Regions from separate parts of the Homo sapiens genome. Here region 2 is linked to region 1. The links are contacts of gene promoters, found by promoter capture Hi-C in human tissues and cell types (Jung and others, 2019). All regions are on one chromosome and are shown on one strand. The core of a region is centred on a gene start or on the middle of the fragment in contact, and the rest is flanking DNA. Distances in the headings are between cores, read along the strand shown.

Region 1 (5,129 bases), core at 770-3,269:
CCTCCCAAAAAAAAAAAAGCCAGATGCGGTGGCTCACTCCTGTAATCCCAGCACTTTGGGAGGCTGAGGCGGGCAGATCATGAGGTCAGGAGTTTGAGATCAGCCTGACCAACATGGTGAAACCCCATCTCTACTAAAAATACAGAAATTAGCTGGGTATGGTGGCACATGCCTGTAATTCCAGCTACTCAGGAGGCTGAGGCAGGAGAATTGCTTGAACCCGGGAGGTGGAGGTTGCAGTGAGCTGAAATCACACCACTGCACTCCAACCTGGGCGACAGAGCGAGACTCTGACTCAAAAAAAAAAAAAAAAAAAAAAAACTTATCTGGAATCAGACTGGAGTTTAAACCCAGGCTCTGCCTGGTCCCCACTTAGGAACACCTCAATGCCTCAGTTTTCCCCTTTGGAAAGAGACGGAATTCACTTCCGGACACTAACAGGGATTGTTTTAAGACCCAGCTGCTTCCTAGAATGACTGCCATTTAGTCAGTCCTGGCTGTGCACCAAGCTCTCCACGTTGCTGCTCCCTGCAGTGCTCATCTGCAATCTGGAGCAAAAACCTAGGAAGGCCGTGTGCAGTGGCTCATGCCTGTAATCCCAGCACTTTGGGAGGCCGAGGCAGGAGGATCACTTGAGGCTAGGAGTTTGAGACCAGCCTGGGCAACATAGCAAGACCCCATCTCTATAAAAAATTTTACAAAATTAGCCGGGCATGGTGGTGCACGCCTATAGTCCCAGCTACTCTGGAGGCTCAGGGAGGAGAATCACTTGAGCCTGGGAAGTTGAGGCTGCAGTGAGCCAAGATCGCGCCACTGCACTCCAGTCTAGGCAACAGAGCAAGATCCTATTTTTTTTTTTTTTTGAGATGGAGTCTTGCTCTATTGCCTAGGCTCAAGTGCAGTGGCACAATATTGGCTCACTGCAACCTCCACCTCCCAGGTTCAAGCCTCCCAAGTAGCTGGGATTACAGGTGCACACCACCATGCCCAGCAAATTTTTGTATTTTTAGTAGAGATGGGGTTTTACCACGTTGGCCATGCTGGTCTTGAACTCCTGAGCTCAGGTGATCCACCCGCCTCGGCCTCCCAAAGTGCTGGGATTACAGGCGTGAGCCACTGCGCCCGGCCAATTTTTTAAAATAAAAAATAAAATTAAGAAATAAATACAACATAGGAATATTCAAATGACTGAATTTGAATCAAGCCCCCTGCACGTAGCTGGCCCTGAGAGCCTGTGAGCTGTGGGGGCCGGTGCCCTAACACTTCCTGTCATCACAGTAGTTGTTATTGAAAGCACCAAGTGCCAGGCGTGGTGTGGTGGCTCACGTCTGTAATCCCAGCACTTTGGGAGGTCGAGGCGGGCAGATCACTTGAGCTCAAGAGTTCGCAACCAGCCTGGCCTACATGGTGAAACCCTGTCTCTACTAAAAATACAAAAATTAGCCAGATGTGGTTGCATGCGCCTGCAGTCCCAGCCACTCGGGAGGCTGAGTTACGAGAATCGCTTGAAGCTGGGAAGCAGAAGCTGCAGTGAGCTGAGATCACGCCACTGCACTCCAGCCTGGGTGACAGAGTGAGAGACTCCGTCTCAAAAAAATAAAAGCAAGCAAGCACTGAGCATGAATCCTGGCACACAGCAAGTGCTCAGTTAATACACCCTCTTCTTTCCCAGCCTCTTTGGAATTCAATGAACCTGGCTCTCATCCTGGCTCGGGGACCCTGGATACATCACTTTCCCCAGCCTTAGTTTACCCATCTGGAATATGGGGTCACTATGGGAGGTGTGAGGCTGAAGTCAAGCCCTTGGCGGGTGTACAGCACAGAGAATGCGGACAAGCTTGTGGCCAGCGTCCTCTGGGTTCAGGGCGTCTTCACCTTGGCAGGGATGGCAGAGCCCTCTTGCGCCCCGGCAGGTCGGCGGGGCAGGCCACCCCTTGGATTGTGACACCCACTCCTCTCACCTATGACCTCATCCCCAGAGCGGCCAGTGGGAACCCTGAGGGATCTGTGAGATCACTCATTCCATTCACAGACTCTTGTTGGGCAGCAGCCACCCGCTCACCTCCATCCCCAGGACTTAGAGGGACGCAGGGCGTTGGGAACAGAGGACACTCCAGGCGCTGACCCTGGGAGGCCAGGACCAGGGCCAAAGTCCCGTGGGCAAGAGGAGTCCTCAGAGGTCCTTCATTCAGCGGTTCCGGGAGGTCTGGGAAGCCCACGGCCTGGCTGGGGCAGGGTCAACGCCGCCAGGCCGCCATGGTCCTGTGCTGGCTGCTGCTTCTGGTGATGGCTCTGCCCCCAGGCACGACGGGCGTCAAGGACTGCGTCTTCTGTGAGCTCACCGACTCCATGCAGTGTCCTGGTACCTACATGCACTGTGGCGATGACGAGGACTGCTTCACAGGCCACGGGGTCGCCCCGGGCACTGGTCCGGTCATCAACAAAGGCTGCCTGCGAGCCACCAGCTGCGGCCTTGAGGAACCCGTCAGCTACAGGGGCGTCACCTACAGCCTCACCACCAACTGCTGCACCGGCCGCCTGTGTAACAGAGCCCCGAGCAGCCAGACAGTGGGGGCCACCACCAGCCTGGCACTGGGGCTGGGTATGCTGCTTCCTCCACGTTTGCTGTGACCAACAGGGAGGACAGGGCCTGGGACTGTTCTCCCAGATCCGCCACTCCCCATGTCCCCATGTCCTTCCCCCACTAAATGGCCAGAGAGGCCCTGGACAACCTCTTGCGGCCCTGGCTTCATCCCTTCTAAGGCTGTCCACCAGGAGCCCGGTGCTAGGGGAAGCATCCCCAGGCCTGACTGAGCGGCAGGGGAGCACGGCCCGTGGGTTTGATTGTATTACTCTGTTCCACTGGTTCTAAGACGCAGAGCTTCTCACATCTCAATCAGGATGCTTCTCTCCATTGGTAGCACTTTAGAGTCCATGAAATATGGTAAAAAATATATATATATCATAATAAATGACAGCTGATGTTCATGGAGCATTCTTTGTTTTCTTTTCTTTTTCTTTTCCTTTTTTTTTTTTTCTTTTTGTAGAGATAAGGTCCAGCTATGTTGCCCAGGGTGGTCTCGGATTCTTGGGCTCAAGTGATCCTCCCACCTCAGCCTCCCAAAGTGCTGGGATTACAGGTATGAGCCACGGCACCTGGCCAAGCCTGTCTTACGTTACGTGCCACTGAATCCTCACACCAAGCTGGGAAGGTAAACACTCTTTCAAACATTTCAAACATCCTGGTCTCAACTCCAATCATTCTCAAAGTGTGGTCCCTGGACCAGAAACAGCAGCAGCAGCAAGTGGGAACTTCCTGAAAATGCAGATTCTCAGGTCCTGTTCCAGGCACGATGAATGGCAGTGGGGTCCAAAAGCTGTGTATTGTTCTCTCTTTTTCTTTTTGAAACAGGGTTTTGCTCTGCTGCCCAGGCTGGAGTGCAGTGGTGCAATCTTGGCTCATTGCAGCCTCTACCTCCTGGGCTCAAGCAATCCTCCCACCTCAGCCTCCTGAGTAGCTGGGACTAGAAGCATGCTCCATCATGTCTAATTTTTATTTTTTTAAATTTTTGTAGAGATGGGGTCCTGCTATGTTGCCCAGGCTGGTCTTGAAGTCCTGGGCTCAAGCGATCCTCCTGCCTCAGCCTCCCAAAGTGCTGGGACTACAGACATGAACCACCACGCCTGGCCTTTTTCCGTTTTCTTTTTCTTTTCCTTTTTTTTTTTTTTTTTTATTTTTTGAGACAGAGTCTCGCTCGGTCACCCAGGCTTTAGTGCAGTGGCGCGATCTTGGCTCACTGCAACCTCCACCTCCCAGGTTCTAGCGATTCTCCTGCCTCAGCCTCCCGAGTAGCTGGGACTAGAGATGCATTCCACCAGGCCCGGCTGATTTTTTGTATTTTTAGTAGAGACAGGGTTTCCCCATGTTAATCAGGCTGGTCTGAAACTCCTGACCTCGGGTGATCCACCTGCCTCGGCCTCCCAAAGTGCTGGGATTACAGGTGTGAGCCACCACGCCCAGCCCAAAAGCTGTGTTTTAACAAGCGCTCCCAGGGATTCTGGTGCATGCACAGGGTTGAAAGCCACTGTTCCTGAGCAGTGTTCTCAGCTGGGCACCTGTGCTCCCCAGTGGGCATCTGCGCTGTCTGGAGAGGTTTTCGGTTCTCTAATTGGCAGGGAAAGTCGGGGGTATGGGGCGTGTGATGCTACTGACCTCTGCTGGGTGGAGGCTGAAGATGCCGAGGAGCCTCCCACAATGCACCCAACAGCTCCTAAAACAAAGACTTACCCAGCCCGAGCGTGGGTGCCACCCCTGTTGAGGGACCTGGTTCTAGAGGCTCTAACCCTATCAGCCCATGACATAGAGGGGGAAACTGAGGCACAGAGAGGTGAAGTAAGTTGCCTGAAGTCACACAACGAGGAACTGAGAGAGCTAGAATTTGAATCCAGGCCGTCTGGTCCCAGAGGCCACACCCCTCTCCTCCCTAGCTGTGCTGTGACCCTGTGAGGTAGGTGCTGTTATTATTTGCAGTTTCTTTCTTTCTTTTTTTTTTTTTTTTTTTTTTGCTTTTTTGAGATGGAGTCTTGCTCTGTCTCCCAGGCTGGAGTGCGACAGCGCGATCTCGGCTCACTGCAACCTCTCTCCTGGGTTCAAGCAATTCTCCTGCCTCAACCTCCCAAGTAGCTGGGAAGACAGGGTTTCACCATGTTGGCCAGACTGGTCTTGAACTCCTGACCTCAGCCAATCTGCCCGCCTCAGCCTCTCAAAGTGCTGGGATTACAGGCGTGAGCCACCATGTCCGGGCATTTTCTTAGATGCTCAGAGAGGTGGAGTTATTTACCCGAGGCAGAGCTTAGATCCCAATCCAGGTGCTCCTGATTTTGAACAAACCCCACCCCCAAACTGTTTGCCCAGTTTTCCAGATAAGAAAACACCAGGTCAAAGAGAAGCAGACTTACCCAAGACCACTAAACAGGCCAGCACCAGGTCCGGCCGCGGCACCAACCTCCTCCGCAGGGAAGAGTGTTTTGCCCCCATTACACAGATGAGAAAAGAGAGGCCTGGGCAAGGGGATGCCAGCTGTTCTCTGAGCACACTGAGGGAAAGTGGGGTATAGGACGCCGGGAGG
Region 2 (5,129 bases), core at 931-3,430, 170 kb before region 1:
TGAAAAGTCTTTTTTTCTGTCCTTGTACTTGATGGACAGTCAGGCTGGGTATAGAATTCTGCATTAGAGCTCATTTTCCTTCAGAATTTGGAAGAGTCACTCTATTGTTTTCTAATATCCAGTGCTACTGTAGAGAAATCCAAGATCATTCTGATTCCTATGCCTTTGTATGTAACCTGTTGTTTCTTTTCCTTGTCCTTGGTGGACTGACATTTATCAGTGACATGCCTTGATCTGTTTCCCTTTTTTTTTTTTTTTTGAGACGGAGTTTCACTCTTGTTGCCCAGGCTGGAGTGCAATGGCACGATCTCAGCTCACTGCAACCTCCACCTCCCAGGTACAAGCAATTCTCCTGTCTCAGCCTCCCAAGCAGCTCCGATTACAGGCATGTGGCACCATGCCCAGCTAATTTCTTTGTATTTAGTAGAGATGGGGTTTCACCATGTTAGTCAGGCTGGTTGCAAACTTCTGACCTCAGGTGATCCACCCGCCCCAGCCTCCCAAAGTGCTGGGATTATAGGTGTGTGCCACCGCGCCCGGCCTGCTTTCCTTTCTTTTCTTTTATCTTTTCTTTATTTTTTATTTTTTTGAGACAGAGTCTTGCTCTGTCACCAGGCTGAAGTGCAGTGGCGTGATCTTGGCTTACTGCAACCTCTGCCTCCCGGGTTCAAGCCATTCTCCTGCCTCAGCCTACCGAGTAGCTGGACTACAGGTGCCCACCACCAAGCCCAGCTAATTTTTGTATTTTTAGTAGAGACGGGGTTTCACCGTGTTGGCCAGGATGGTCTCGATCTCCTGACCTTGTGATCCGCCTGCCTCAGCCTCCCAAAGTGCTGGGATTACAGGCGTGAGCCACCGCACCCGGCCTTCTTTTTCTTTCTTTTTTTTTTTTTTTAGAGGCAGGTTCTCATTATGTTTTCCAGGCTGGTCTTGAACTCCTGGGCTCAAGCGATCCTCCTGCCTTGGCTTCCCAAAATGCTGGGATTACAGGCATGAGCCATGCGCATGGCCATTGATCTGTTTCCGTTGCTGGGTCTTTCAATCGTATTCTCATGTCATTTGTTCTGAGAAAATTTCTTGAATTTTCTTAAATTCTTTTATGTACAATATCTCCCTCTCCTTCATTTCTCTGTTTGTTTATTTATTTATGTTTAGAGACAGGGTCTCACTCTGTTCCCCAGGCTAGAGTGCAGTGAGGCAATCATAGCTCACTGCAGCCTTGACATCCTGGGCTCAAGCAATCCTCTCGCCTCAGCCTCCCGAGTAGCTTGGACTACAGGTGTGTGCCACTTTCGTGTAGAGACGGGGGTCTCACTATGTTGCCCAGGCTGCTCTTGAACTCCTAGGATCAAGCGATCCTACCACCTTGGCCTCCAAAAGTGTTAGGATTACAGGTGTGAGGCACCATGCCTGGCCAGAAACTGGACTTTCTTTTTTTTTTTTTTTATTTCATTTTGCTTTTTTTTGAGACAGAGTCTTGCTCTGTCACCCAGGCTGGAGTGCAGTGGCACGATCTCTGCTCACTGCAACCTCCACCTCCCGGGTTCAAGTGATTCTCCTGCCTCAGCCTCCCGAGTAGCTGGTTCTACAGGCGCCCGCAACCATGCCCAGCTAATTTTTGTATTTTCAGTAGAGGTGGGGTTTCACCATGTTGGCCAGGCTGGTCTTGAACTCCTGACCTCAAATGATCCACCCACCTCAGCCTCCCAAAGTGCTGGGATTACAGGCGTGACACCACCTGCAATACAGGTGCAATGGCTCACACCTGTAATCCCAGCACTTTGGGAGGACGAGAAGGGCGGATTGCCTGAGGTCAGGAGTTCAAGACCAGCCTGACCAACATGGTGAAACCCCATCTCTACTAAAAATACAAAAATTAGCCGGGCATGATGGTGGGCGCCTGTAATCCCAGCTACTCGGGAGGCTGAGGCAGAATCGCTTGAACCCGGGAGGTGGAGGTTGCAGTGAGCTGAGACCAGCACATTGCACTCCAGCCTGGGCAACAATAGCATAACTCTATCTCAAAAATAAAAATAGAAAATAAAGAATAAATAAATAAAATTTAAATGCAAATAGCCATATGTGGCGAGCTAGTGGTTGCCATAGAGGACAGCACTAGAAAATTCCATCTTTACAGTGAGGCACAAGGGAGAGGCAGCTCCCAGGGCTCTGGCCGGCTCGCAGGCCAAACGTGGGCTCACCCTACCGCTTCCGGCAAGTAACCCCACAGGGGGAGAAAGGAAATGCACGTCCTAAAAAGAAATAGAGAAACACAGCTTCTCCTCCCAGCCAGTTCTTGGTGCCCTTTCCATGAGAGATGTGCAATTTCTCACTCACTCAAGAGGGGCAAAAAAGGAAATATCAAGGCCCCTTTCCGTAATGTAAGCATTATTTTTTTTTCTTTTGGATCAATTAAAATATGGATGCATTCACACTCACACATTCCAAACTAACAGTACACACTGTTCTCATCTTGCCTTTTTCCACGGAGAAAGCCCTTTTGGCATCTTTTCTGTGTTAATGGAATCCTACTTCTCAGCTCCAGTGTCTGGGCCATGGAAGGCCTCCCTTGGACCAGTCTGAGTTTACTCATTTGGCCGCTTCTTTTCTTTTTTTTTTTTTTTGAGATGGAGTCTCGCTCTGTTGCCCAGGCTGGAGTGCAGTGGCGCGATCTCGGCTCACTGCAGGCTCTGCCTCCCGGGTTCATACCATTCTCCTGCCTCAGCTTCCCGAGTAGCTGGGACTACAGGCGCCCGCCACCTCATCCAGCTAATTTTTTGTATTTTTTTAGTAGAGACGGGGTTTCACCGTGTTAGCCAGGATGGTTTAGATCTCCTGACCTCGTGATCCGCCTGCCTCCGCCTCCCAAAGTGCTGGCATTACAGGCACAAGCCACCGCGCCTGGCGGCCGCTTCTTCTATTTTCTTTTGAGATGCAGTCTCGCTCTGTCACCCAGGCTGGAGTGCAGTGGTGTGATCTCAGCTCACTGCAACCTCCACCTCCTGGGATCAAGTGATTCTCCTGCCTCAGCCTCCCGAGTAGCTGGAACTACAGGCACACGCAACCACACCCAGCTAGTTCTTTTTATTTTTAGTAGAGATGGGGTTTCACCATATTGGCCAGGCTGGTCTTGAACTTCTGACCTGAGATGATCCGCCCACCTCAGCCTCCCAAAGTGTTCTTGGGATTACAGGCGTGAGCCACCATGCCTGGCCCACTTCTTTTCTTTTCTTTCGAACTTCTTTTTTAAAAATTTTTAATTGTATTTTTTTTTTTACAGATGGTCTCACTATGTTGCCCAGGCTGGTCTCAAACTCCTGGCCTCAAGCAATCCTCCCACCTTGGCCTCCCAAAGCGATGGGATGACAAGCTTGAGTGACCACTCCCTACCTGAACTTTTGTTAAATTTATTCCTAAATATTTTATTTTATTTTATTTTTTATTTTTTTGCCAGTGTCAAACTCCTGACCCCAAGGAATCTGCTGGCCTCAGCCTCCCAAAGTGCTGGGATTATAGGCATGAGCCACCGCACCCAGCCTGGAATTGTTTTAATTTCATTTTAATTGTTCATTGCTAGTATATAGGAATATAATTTATTTCACATATTTTGTAATTTATTTCGTATATTGATCTTGTATCATGAACCTTGTTGAACTTCTATTAGCCATAATAATTTTTATTGTGGATCCTTTGGGATTTTTCTATATACAATTCTATTAATTCGCTAGGGCAGCCATAACAAAATACCATAGACTGAGTGGCTTACACAACAGAAATGTATCGCCCCACAGTTGTAGAGGCTAGAAGGTCAAAATCAAGGTGTCGGCAGTGATGGCTCCTTTTGAGGGCTGTGGGAGGACCTCTTCCAGACCTTCCTCCTTGGCTTGTAAAAAGCTGCCGTCTTCCTCTGTCTCTTCACCTTGTCTACCCTTTAAGTGCCCATTCAGCCACTTGTTTTTTTTTTTTTTTTTTTGAGACGGAGTCTTGCTCTTGCTCCATTGCCCGGGCACCATCTCAGCTCACTGCAACGTCCGCCTCCCAGGTTTAAACAATTCTCCTGCCTCAGCCTCCCAAGTAGCTGAGATTACAGGCGTGTGCCACCACACCTGACTAATTTTTGTATTTTTAGTAGCAACAGGGTTTCGCCATGTTGGCCAGGCTGGTCATGAACTTCTGAACTCAGGTGATCCGCTCGAGGTTCAAGCAATTCTCCTGCCTCAGCCTCCCGAGTGGCTGAGATTACAGGCACATGCCACCACACCCGGCTAATTTTTGTATTTTTAGTAGAGATGGGGTTTCACTATGTTGGCCAAGCTGGTTATGAACTCCCGACCTCAGGAGATCCGTGCCCCGGGCGGCCTCCCAAAGTGCTGGGGTTAGAAGCATGAGCCACCACACCCAGCCGTCCAGCCATTTCTTAGTAAGCACCTAGTGTGTGCTAGGCACTGTTCTAGACCCTGTGGATACAGTGGTGAATCAGACGGGCAAAGTCCCTGCCTCATGGAACTTAAATTCCAGTGAAGGGAGACGTGCAATGCACGGAATAAATGAGAATATTCTATAGTGCATTCCAAGGGGATACGCGCTATGGGTAAAAATAGGGCAGGGTGAATGCATTTGGAAAACTGGGGCGGGAGACTGGAGGTTGCAGTATCAAATAGGGTGCTCAGGAAGGTGTCTTTGGAGCAAACACCTGACGGAGGTTGTAACTGCCCAGTGGGTTCACGTTGCCCGCTGCCTAGACAGAGCCGATTTATCAAGACGGGGGGTCTGCAATGGAAAAAGAGTCATTCACGCAGAGCCGGCTGTGTGGGAGACCGGAGTTTTATTATCACTCACATCAGTCTGCCTGAGCATTTGGGAACCAGAGTTTTTAAAGATAATTTGGCGGGTAGGGGCTTGGGAAGCGGGGAGTGCTGATTGGTCAGGTTGGAGTTGGACTCACAGGCGGTCGAAGTGAGGTTTTCTTGCTGTTTTCTGTTCCTGGGTGGGATGGCAGAACTGGCTGAGCCAGATTACCAGTCTGGGTGGCGTCAGCTGATCCATAGAGTGTAGGGTCTGTAGAATATCTCAAGCACTCATCTTAGGTTTTACAGTAATGATGTCATCCCCAGGAGCAATCGGGGGAG

The links. Contacts are between HindIII fragments. The study calls those that stand out against the background at their distance.
Region 2: a contact is called between a fragment that was not itself captured here and the fragment with the promoter of SPACA4 in region 1, in 1 of the 25 tissues and cell types used here (bladder).

What each region holds. Positions count from the first base shown.
Region 1 is chr19:48,604,723-48,609,851 of GRCh38, forward strand. It overlaps SPACA4 (sperm acrosome associated 4), which reads left to right and starts at 2,020. Exons shown (of 1, transcript NM_133498.3): 1 at 2,020-2,992. The coding sequence starts at 2,257. The coding sequence ends at 2,631. The region is part of intron 5 of FAM83E (family with sequence similarity 83 member E); the gene reads right to left. The HindIII fragment of the contact is 21,490 bases long and covers 1-5,129 here.
Region 2 is chr19:48,431,343-48,436,471 of GRCh38, forward strand. The region is part of intron 11 of GRIN2D (glutamate ionotropic receptor NMDA type subunit 2D); the gene reads left to right. Among named protein-coding and RNA genes, the nearest start is that of GRWD1, 12 kb to the right of the region's middle. The HindIII fragment of the contact is 9,114 bases long and covers 1-5,129 here.